Regions from separate parts of the Homo sapiens genome. Here region 1 is linked to region 2. The links are contacts of gene promoters, found by promoter capture Hi-C in human tissues and cell types (Jung and others, 2019). All regions are on one chromosome and are shown on one strand. Each heading gives the region's core, a stretch centred on a gene start or on the middle of the fragment in contact. The rest is flanking DNA. Distances are from core to core; before and after follow the strand shown. Region 1 overlaps HERC1 (HECT and RLD domain containing E3 ubiquitin protein ligase family member 1). Region 2 holds the start of SNX22 (sorting nexin 22).

Evidence for each region. The method cuts DNA at HindIII sites, captures the fragments that hold promoters and counts their contacts. A contact is called where the count stands out against the background at its distance.
Region 1: a contact is called between a fragment that was not itself captured here and the fragment with the promoter of SNX22 in region 2, in 1 of the 25 tissues and cell types used here (lymphoblastoid cells).

What each region holds. Positions count from the first base shown.
Region 1 is chr15:63,793,159-63,798,391 of GRCh38, forward strand. All of the region lies in intron 1 of HERC1 (HECT and RLD domain containing E3 ubiquitin protein ligase family member 1), which reads right to left. Among named protein-coding and RNA genes, the nearest start is that of HERC1, 38 kb to the right of the region's middle. The HindIII fragment of the contact is 4,073 bases long and covers 1,657-5,233 here.
Region 2 is chr15:64,150,275-64,155,667 of GRCh38, forward strand. SNX22 (sorting nexin 22) reads left to right here and starts at 1,457. Exons shown (of 7, transcript NM_024798.3): 1 at 1,457-1,576; 2 at 1,969-2,052; 3 at 2,364-2,468; 4 at 2,971-3,065; 5 at 3,378-3,410; 6 at 3,661-3,728; 7 at 4,113-5,393. The coding sequence starts at 1,502. The coding sequence ends at 4,234. RefSeq lists enhancers at 116-225, 3,153-3,382, 3,406-4,137, 3,883-4,002, 4,013-4,172 and silencers at 1,143-1,582, 1,783-2,162. The HindIII fragment of the contact is 9,247 bases long and covers 1-4,001 here.

The DNA.
Region 1 (5,233 bases), core at 2,443-4,942, 350 kb before region 2:
TTGAGTAGGGACTGTGTAAAATAAGGCTGAGACCTACCAGGCTGAATTCCCAGGAGGTTAGGCATTCTAAATCACAGGATGAGACAGGAGGTCGGCACAAGACACAGGTCGTAAAGACCACGCTGATAAAACTGGTTGCAGTAAAGAAGCTGGCCCAAACCCACCAAAACCAAGATGGCCACGAAAGTGGCCTCTGGTAGTCCATACTGCTCATTATACACTAATTATAATGCATTAGTATGCTAAAACACACTCCCAACAGTGCCATGATAGTTTACAAATGCCCTAGCAATGTCAGAAAGTTACCCTATATGGTCTAAAAGGGGGAGGAACCCTCAGTTTCGGGAATTGCCCACCCCTCTCCCAGAAAACTCATGAATAATTCACCCCTTGTTTAGTATATAATCAAGAAATAACTATAACTATCCTTAGTGGAGCAGCCCTTGCTGCTGCTCTGCCTATGGAGCAGACATTCTTTATTCCTTTACTTTCTTAATAAACTCACTTTCACTTTACTCTGTGGACTCGCCCTGAATTCTTTCTTGCGCAAGATCCAAGAACCCTCTCTTGGGGTCTGGATAGGGACCCCTTTCCAGTACAGAACCTCTATGGGTTCAGCTATCTGGAAGTTCCCTGTGTTAGAGATGTGTGAACCAAAGCAACTCCACCTTGAGTAGGAGCTGGGTAAAATGAGGCTGAGACCTACTGGGCTGCATTCCCAGACGGTTAAGGCATTCTAAGCCACAGGATGAGATAGGAGGTCAGCACAAAATACAGGTCATAAAGACCTTCTAATAAAACAGGTTACAGTAAAGGAGCTGGCTAAAACTCACCAAAACTGCGATGGCCATGAGAGTGACCTCTGGTTGTCCTCACTGCTACACTCCCATCAGCGCCATGACAGTTTACAAATCCCATGGCACTGTCAGGAAGTCACCCTATATGGTCTAAAAAGGGGAGGCATGAATAATCCACCCCTTGTTTAGCATATCATCAACATATAACCATAAAAATGAGCAACCAGCAGCCCTTGGGGCTGTTCTGTCTATGGAGTAGCCATTCTTTCATTCCTTTACTTTCTTAATAAACTTGCTTTCACTTTACTCTATAGACTCGCCCTGAATTCTTTCTTGCGTGAGATCCAAGAACCCTCTCCTGGGGTCTGGATCAGAACCCCTTTCCTGTAACACCTGAACCCAGTCTTTTTGTGGTTCTATGGAAGCTTCATTACTAGCTATTACTGGTTGAATCACTGAGTGATCAACTCAATCTTTGGCCCTTCTTTCCTCCCCTTCCCAGAGGTTGGGGATGGGGCTGAAAGTACTAACCCTCTAATCATGGCTCAGTCTTTCCAGTGACCAGCCCCAATCCTGAAGCTAACCAGAGGTGACCAGGCATCAGCAAATTCATTAGCACACAAAAAGACACAGATCACTTTGGAGATTCCAAAGATTTTAGGAGTTATATTCCAGGAGACATGAGGAAGACCAAATATATATTTTACAATATCTCACCTACCACCCATTACAACTGGGACTCTAGCAGGAGATGCCACTCTTTCATCTTAGAACAGCTAAGATCCCTACTTTCCCACTCCCCATACCCAGCAGTTTAAGAAAAACACGTAAAGGGTTCAGTGGCTCACACCTAAAATCCCAGCACTTTGGGAGGCCGAGGTGGGCGGATCACCTGAGGTCAGGAGTTCAAGTCCATCCTAGCCAAAATGGCAAAATTCTATCTCTACTAAAAATACAAAAATTAGCCAGGCGTGGTGGTGTGTACCTGTAGTCCCAGCTACTCAGGCTGCTGAGGCAGGAGAATTGTTTGAACCTGGGAGGCGGGGGTTGCAGTTAGCCAAGATTGTGCCACTGCATTCCAGCCCGGGCAACAGAGCAAGACTCTGTCTCAAAAAAAAAAAAAAAAAAAAAAGTAAAGGAATAATCATCCTTTTTCCTACTTGAACATTTAAATGACATACAAATTATATCATTTTTAAATGTATCAATACAGTTTTAAAGCACAAGTTTCTGCTTTAAAGATCTTAAAATTCTGAGGAAGGAAAAACTGGGTCAATTGTCTTAGTTACTAAAGCTTGCCTTTTTCAATGGTTTTATTAAAATATTCTGCTTGCATTTATCATTTTGGAAAAAGAAGTTCAAAGTAGATAAAGAGTAGTGATAATTTTAAAATAAAATAACCAATAAAAACAGATTTCAGAAATGTGTATGAGAGATGTTGATAGCACCTAAGATTGCAGAAGTAGAGATAAAATTGAGAGGAAAAAATATCAGTTTAATATAAGAAAATTAACATTTAATTGGAATTTTAAGTGGCTTGATTTTATTTTCAATCAAATAGAAAAGCTCTGATACAAAAGGTTCCTATTTTGAATTACTCTGAAGATATTTCATGTTTGCCCATTTGAACCAGCAGTATGTTTGAAATGCTTGTTCCCTGGTGCCACAAAGAAATAGCACTTGAACATAAATTTAATTTACTCAGCAAGGCCATTTTTATACTTTCTGCAGAAAGGGTATACTCGCCAGCAGTTCTGCCACGAGAGTACACCGAACAAAAGAGACAGGGTCATTTATAATCTCACGCGTCCACCCTACTGCTGTGTCCAGTTTCCACTGGCTGGAACGGGACCTGACATTCTGTATTTGTCCCGACTGGCTAGCAACTCAGAACTTTTTAAAAGAGGCAAAGGCAGAGGAGAATCAAGGAAGCAGGAAGTTAACTTGTGGAATGCTGAGAAAGGTAAAAATACCTTTAAATAAGGAAGAGGAACAGGCTACGACCTAATGCTTGCTTGAACCAGTATAAGCATGCCAGGGCAAATATTTAGGCTAAATTGTGGGAGCTAAGAACATAAAGTACATTGATTTCTTTATCACAGCTAGCAGATTTTTAAGAATGTTAGCACAGGTCTTTAAATAAATTTTGCTTCTAAGAGAAGTTACTATTTATTCCTAGTTAAATAGGGAGGAAAATCTTTGAAGAGGAACCTTTATTTTTTACAAGTAGAATAAATTAATTATATTTTTTAAACTAAATTTAGTCCACTACTAAAGGGTATCATCCCTTAAGTCCATATGCCAACATATTTTCCAACAGTTACATCTTCTGCAACTTTTAATAAGTTTCTATTTCATTTAATATGTGGATAAGGGTACTACTGAAATGTGACTAAATTCAGTAGTTTCTAATGTAAATTCTAAATTAAAACTTAAACTCACAAAACTGAAACCATCTTTGCAAAATTATGACAGTAAGAGAAATTTGACACAGTTAAGTCCATTTCGCTTCTAACCTCCATCATCGATCATTCCGGGGTGTAGACTGTAAACCAAAAATAGCTGAGTTAGGTCTCAATCAATTTAGAAAGTTTATTTTGCCAAGGTTAAGGACATGCCTGTGATACAGACTCAGGAGGTCCTGATGACATGTACCCAAGGTGGTCAGGGACAGCTTGATTTTATACATTTTAGGGAGACATGGGATATCAATCAATACTTGTAAAATGTCCATTGATTCAGTCCAGAAAGGCTGGACAACTTGAAGCAGAAGCTTTCAGGTCATAGATACATTGAAAGGTTTTCAGATTGGCAATTGGTTGAAAGAATTATTATCTAAAGAAAGAAATGTCTGTGTTACAATAAAGGGTTATGGAGACCAAGGTTTTATCATGCAGATGAGGCCTCCAGGTAACAGGCTTCAGAGAACAGATTGTAAATGTTTCTTATCAGACTTAAAGAGTCTTGTTCTATCAGTAATTCCAAAAGAGAGGAGGGTATTATGAGGCATATCTGGCTCCCCCTTTCCATCATGGCCGGAACTAGTTTATCAGGTTAACTTTGGAATGCTTGCTGAGAGGAGGGGGCCATTCAGATGGTTAGAGAGCTTAGAATTTTATTTTTAGTTTACAAGACCAAGCTGATTTTCAGAGAAATTTATAGTTTGACCTTAAAGCAAGGATGATAATAACCTTTCCCAAAACTAAACCACCTTCATAAAACTAATGAAAGGCCACAAGGTTAGGATTATGAGAGGGGCCTGAATTCTGCTAAGGTGTAGGCATAGTTTCTATCATCCCTTACTGCTCAGGAGTCATATGGCTAGAGGTCACAAGACAAGTATAGCTTCTTCTATCATTCCTTACTGTTCAGGAGTCATGTGGCCAAGGGTCACAATATTTGTCACTTCCTCAATTACTCTTATAGAGAAAATCATTATAATAGAATCTAAGATTGGTTTTTTTGTGTTATCTTTCAGAATGACCCCACCTGGACTCCTGCCTCAAGACTTAACATCCTGTGGCCCTATGCAGAGGCAGACTCATCACACCAGGACTGTTTTTCACACTCCAATCATTTTTTTTTCCCTGACCAATCAACATTCCCCATTCCCTAGTCCCCCACCCATCAAACTATCCTTGAAAACCCTAAACTCCAAGCCTTTGGGGAAATACATCAATTTGAATAATAACTCTGTCTCATGCATGGCATGGCCAGCCTCCTGTCAATTAAACTCTTCCTTTACTGCAATGTAGTGGTCTCTGTTAATTGATTTTGTCTGCGCAGCAGGCAGGGAAAACCTGTCAGGAGATTACAAAATGTTTACTGTATACCTATGAGATTTCAGAACTTCAACTGAATTATCACAAAAATCCGTAAGATAGTTATTAATAACATAAAACAATTTTCAAAAAATTAAACAGTACAACAAGATTACATGCAAGGTGAATGGCAGAGTCAGGATGTGAATATAAGTCCCCAGATTCTGAAGTCCAGTGCTATTTTCACTGCCCCATAATATCACTCCCTGGAAAAATTAACTCTAAATGTTGAGTGGATGTGAATGAGAATCAAGTGTTAGAACTTGTCAAAACACACATGTCCAAGTCCCCAGCCCCACCCAACCTCACTAAAGCACTTATTTTAGAGAAGTGTGACACTACCACCTGCTACTTCTCCCTTCAACCCCAGAATCAGTGCTTTAGGATAAAATTTAACTGAAAATTCTCTCCTTGCTGTAGCTTCCTTATTCAGCTCCCTGATAGCAGGTTCTCCCCAGTTCTAGTGTATCCTCCATCTTTCTACAAACCAAAATCTGATGTTACTCCCTTAGTGAAAACCCCAAATGACTACTCAGTGCTTAACCAGTTAAAGACTAATTACTTTTAACCAACAACTGCCTCTTTACAATCAGGAATTAAAGTGTTTTCCAGGTA
Region 2 (5,393 bases), core at 207-2,706:
CAACCCCAGCCCCGAAGACAGGCACTCTGCTTCCTCCTGCCCACCCCAAGACCTCCCACTACGTATGAGCTTTGGAAGGCAGGGCCTCGCCTCTCTGCATGTCACGGGGCCTTTGTGGGGGAAGTCAGTGGAGTAGAGGACCTGCCATGGTGCTGCTGATAGCAGCTCTCCGACAGCTGAAGGGTGCAGGGCTGAGAGGTGGGAGCAGAGGTCCTTTCCAGCACATGGCCTGAGAGAGTTCTGGATCAAAATCCTGCCACATATCCAGGAAGAACCTGCCCGGAGGGGTGGACAAGAGCAACCCGGTGCCACCCCCCAAAGTCTCTCTTCCCATCCACTGCCCTGTGCCCACTTATCCTAGTCATCCAGGAGAAGCCCACAGTCAAGCTGCTGCTCAATGCTTCTGTTAAGGGCCTAACATGAATCATCTCACTTTTTTTTTTTTTTAAGACAGAGTCTTGCTGTTGCCCAGTCTGGAGTGCAATGGTTTGATCTCGGCTCACTGCAACCTCCGCCTCTCAGGTTCAAGTGATTCTCCCGCCTCAGCCTCCTGAGTAGCTGGGATTACAGGCATGTGCCACCACACCTGGTTGATTTTTGTATTTTTAGTAGGTACGGGGTTTCACCATGTTGGTCAGGCTGGTCTCGAACTCCTGACCTCAGGTGATCCGCCTACCTCGGCCTCCCAAAGTGCTGGGATTACAGGCGTGAGCCACCGCGCCCGGCCAAATCATCTCACTTTATACACTTGCCTGAAGGAGCCACGTTATCCCTATTTTGCAGATGAGCAAAGGTCTACGGAGCTCCTGAAATCCAGGCAGTCTGACGTCCAAATCGGAGTCTAGGTCCCTAAACTGCCTCTTCCCCACAAACAGCCTGGAGCCCCTTAGGGTTGGAAGATATGAGTGAATGGATGGATGAAAACAATGAATGAATGGGGGGGCCTGTGGATGCTGGGGAAAGGGGCATCAAAGCTGGACTGGGTCCAAGCCTTGCTCAGGTGTGGCCTCAGCCGGGGAATCCAGATCACAATTTCAGGGACCAGGCTGAAAGGAGGGAAAGGCTCGGGAAGGGACTGAGGAACCCAAGACAGGTCCCTGGTTGGCCCCAGGACCGGCGCTGAGGCCCGGGCCCCGCCTCCGTCCGCGCCTGGAGCCACAGGCCGTCCTTGGTAGGCGCTTAACTCAGGTTGGGTGACATTTTCGCTCGCCAGTTCCTGGCATCAGTGAGTGCTCCGTCAATGTTTGACAAACGGTTGACTCCACTGCCCCGCGCTGTGGGCGCACTAGACTTCGGGGGCGGCGTCCAGGTCCCGCCTAATCTTCTAGGCTCAGGACCCGCGGCGCAAGGGAACGCCCGGGGCGGGGTCGCCTGGGGGCGGGGCCTGGGGTGGGGCCTGCGGACCGAGGGGGCGGAGCCGGCCGCCCCGGGGTCCTCAGTCCGCTCCGGGAGAGTTAGGGCTCCGAGCCGAGCGCGCGGAGCAGCTGGGGCCGGGGCGCGGATGCTGGAAGTTCACATCCCGTCGGTGGGGCCCGAGGCCGAGGGGCCCAGGCAGAGCCCGGAGAAAAGCCACATGGTGAGCGCGGCCCCTGGATGGGGAGGGGCGCCGGGACCCGCAGGATTTCCCCGCGCTGCGCTCAGTGGGGACCCGGGGCCCGGGCCTGGGTGAACGAGCGCTGCGGGCTGGACCGTCGGGGGAAACCTTGTCGAGGGTTTGGGGGCCGCTTGGATTTGCCAGCCTCGCGGACCATGGTTCGAGCTCTTGAGGGACCCCAGGGCTCCGAGGGGCAGGTCCGCCAGCCGGTTCTCCCAGGTGTGCGGGAGCGGAGAGTCCCCGGGCAGCCGCGGCGCCGCAAGGCCGCTTTGTGCCTTTGAGAGCGGGAGGGTGGGCACGTCGCCAGGCGCAGGTGCTGCGGCGTCCTCCCGCGGGGCCTCACGCGCAGACCCGCTGCCCGCCCGCGCCGCCAGGTGTTCCGAGTGGAGGTGCTGTGCAGCGGGCGCAGACACACGGTGCCAAGGCGCTACAGCGAGTTCCACGCGCTGCACAAGCGGGTGAGGCGGCGCCGACCTCCCACCGGCCCCGGCCCAGCCTCTGTCCAGCCCCCGCCCAGGCCCTGTGAGGCGGGCGGGCGAGCCCCAGCCTCCGCCACCCCCATTACTGCCTCAGTCCCTGCGCAGCCGGTCAGCCCCCGGGCCTCTGTGGGTGGGTTGGGGCCTTCCTCGCCCTCGGCCGGTCCACCACTCACCAGGGTCTGTCCCAGTAGAGCCCGAAGGCGGGGGCGCGGGAGGGCTTCTGGCTGGGGCGAAGAGGGCTTGAGGGCTCAGTCGGGATGCTGTGATCGCACGCGGTAAACCTCCAGTAGATCAAGAAGCTGTACAAAGTGCCCGACTTCCCCTCGAAACGCCTGCCCAACTGGAGGACCAGAGGGTTGGAACAGCGCCGGCAGGGCTTGGAGGCTTACATCCAGGTATGCGAGAGCACAGTTGGTTGCCCCCCGGCCTTCTGTGCCAGGGGTGTGGCCCAGACAGAGAGGTGTGGGGGCATGGCAGGGAGGGAACCCACAACTTGGGGATGTTATTCACCACCTCAAGCATCAATTTTCTGAGTCTAATATAGGTCCAAACACCCCCCTCTGGCTTGTTGAAAGGACTGAAAGAGGTAACGGACACAGGTAGTCCCAGCTCCATGAAACCCAGGTCCTGTCCCCTCCATGGTGAGGTCCTGTGCTGCCCTCCTGATGGCATGTAGGGTGAGGGTCCTTCCCCCAACAGCAAAGCTATGCCGCGTCATGGGGTACAACCTGTGCACACAGCGCCCAGCGCCCAGAAGGGCCCTGAGCCTGGTTCAACGCTCTGCTGTCATTGTCGTGAAATTCTTTTTTTGGAACAAAGAGCCCTGCATTTTCACTGGCACTGCGCTATGCAAATTAGTAGCTGGGTCTGATTGCAGGTCTCCTCTGTCCTCTCCAGGGCATCCTGTACCTGAACCAGGAGGTGCCCAAGGAGTTACTGGAATTCCTGAGACTTCGGCACTTCCCCACAGACCCCAAGGCTAGCAACTGGGGGTAAGGGGGGCCGATGGCGGGGGCCAGGGGCTGTCAGCAGTGAGCAGGTGAGGAAAGGTGTTGGAGGGCAAGCCCTTTCTTTTCACATCTGCCAGGATCCAGCATGACCGCCCTCACCAGCTCTCTTGACCTGGGTGGAGGGGCTTTTTTTTGGACAGACTTGGTTACCCCCGCCACCTCCGGAACTGGGGCTTGTTACAAATAGAAGCAGTGGTCCCCTGGGAGGTGCAGTTCTGGGCTCTGGTGTCTCCACCCCTTCCTCACGCTCCCCCGGCATCCCCAGGCAGCTTACAGTGTTTCTCTTCTCTTCAGCACCCTGAGGGAGTTCCTGCCTGGCGACAGCAGGCAAGTCAAAGCCCTAGCCCGCGCTTGGCCCCTGCTGCCCCCTAGTGGCCATATGCTAGGAGGCAGGCCTGCTGCCTGGGCCTGTCTGGCCTGGGCCCTGAAGTCTGTTTTCCCTTTGGTGCCTCCTGAGCCCATTTCCCACTCACCTTTTCCTTCATGGGTCCCTGGTGATGGCAACCCCGTCTCCACCCCTCTGTGGGATTCTGCCCTGCCTCCCGCACCCATGGTTCATGACCCTGTTTCCTCCCAGCTCCCAGCAGCACCAGCGGCCTGTCCTGAGCTTCCATGTGGATCCCTATGTTTGCAACCCCTCCCCAGGTGAGGAGGTGCCTAGATATGGGGCTACAGGGCTGGGTTGTGGGCTTTGCATTTCTCGGCTCCTGGGACCCTCAGACAGCATCTCCTTCCTGCTGCCCACCTCTGGAGCCACTACCTCCTGCTCCTGTCCCCTGGAGCCTGCTTTGTAGACACAAGGAAAACAAGTTTGGCTTCCCTGGTCTCCATTTCTTCAGCAGCCTGACTTCTTTACCAAGCTGATGTGAAAAGAATGTGACCTGGGAATGCGGAGGCTTCATTTGGGGTGGACAGCTGCTGTCTGCTGCCTTGGCAGGGGCTCCTACTCCCAAGTGGGGGCTGAGCCCATGAGCAGGAGCTCAAGGAGCTGCAGGTCTGAGGCCAGACCTGTTTAATTCTATCCCACAGAGTCGCTGCCCAACGTGGTGGTGAATGGTGTGCTCCAGGGCCTCTACAGCTTCAGCATCAGCCCAGATAAAGCCCAGCCAAAGGCGGCCTGTCACCCTGCTCCTCTGCCACCGATGCCCTGATCAGTCCAGAGGCCTTTGGCTGCCTCCTAAGAAAGTCATGTGCCTCTGTCCTATGAACTCCATATAAGGCTGGGTCCTCCTTTGGCCTGGACCCAGGACTTAATTACCCAGTGCCCAGTTGTGCCACATTCCCACTCAAGGCTCAGAACTTGGCTCGCATTGGTAGCTGGAGGTGGTAGAATTTGTATGCTCTTAGAGCCCAACAGCCAAGGCAGGGTCAAGAAGATAAGTAATAAAAGAGGAAGTCAGCCAGGCGCGGTGGCTCATGCCTGTAATCCCAGCACTTTGGGAGGCCAAGATGGGTGGATCACCTGAAGTCAGGAGTTCGAGACCAGCCTGACCACCATGGAGAAACCCCGTCTCTACTAAAAATACAAAATTAGCCGGGCATTGTGGTGGTGCATGCCTGTAATCCCAGCTACTCGGGAAGCTGAGGTAGGAGAATCTCTTTTTTTTTTTTTTTTTTTTTTTTGAGACGGAGTTTCACTCTTGTTGCCCAGGCTGGAATGCAATGGCACGATCTCGGCTCACGGCAACCCCCGCTTCCCGGGTTCAAGCAATTCTCCTGCCTCAGCCTCTCGAGTAGCTGGGATTACAGGCATCCGCCACCATGCCCGGCTAATTTTTGTATTTTTAATAGAGATGGGTTTCACCACGTTGGCCAGGCTGGTCTTGTACTCCTGACGTCAGGTGATCCACCCGCCTCGGCTTCCCAAAGTGCTGGGATTACGGGCGTGAGCCACCGTGCTCGGCCCAAGGCAGGAGAATCTCTTGAAGCCAGGAGGCGGAAGTTGTGGTGAGCCGAGATCGCGCCACTGCACTCCAGCCTGGGCAACAAGAGTGAAACTCCGTCTCAAAATAAATAAATAATAAAGGAAGAAGTCAGCTGGGTGCAGAGGCTCATGCCTGTAATCCCAATACTTTAGGAGGCCAAGGCAGGAGGATGCTTGGGTCTGGAAGTTTGAGACCAGCCAGCGCAACATAGTGAGACCTGTCTCTACCAAAAAAAAAAAAAAAAAAAAAAAATCAATTTAGAGGTAGGCTATGAAAAAGTACAGATACATCCCTTAACATAGACTGGAGGGTGGTGGCAAGGGGAGCAAATGTGGAGGCCCAGTAGCTGGCAAAGTTTAGAAGCAGGGGGCAAAAGCTCCTGCCT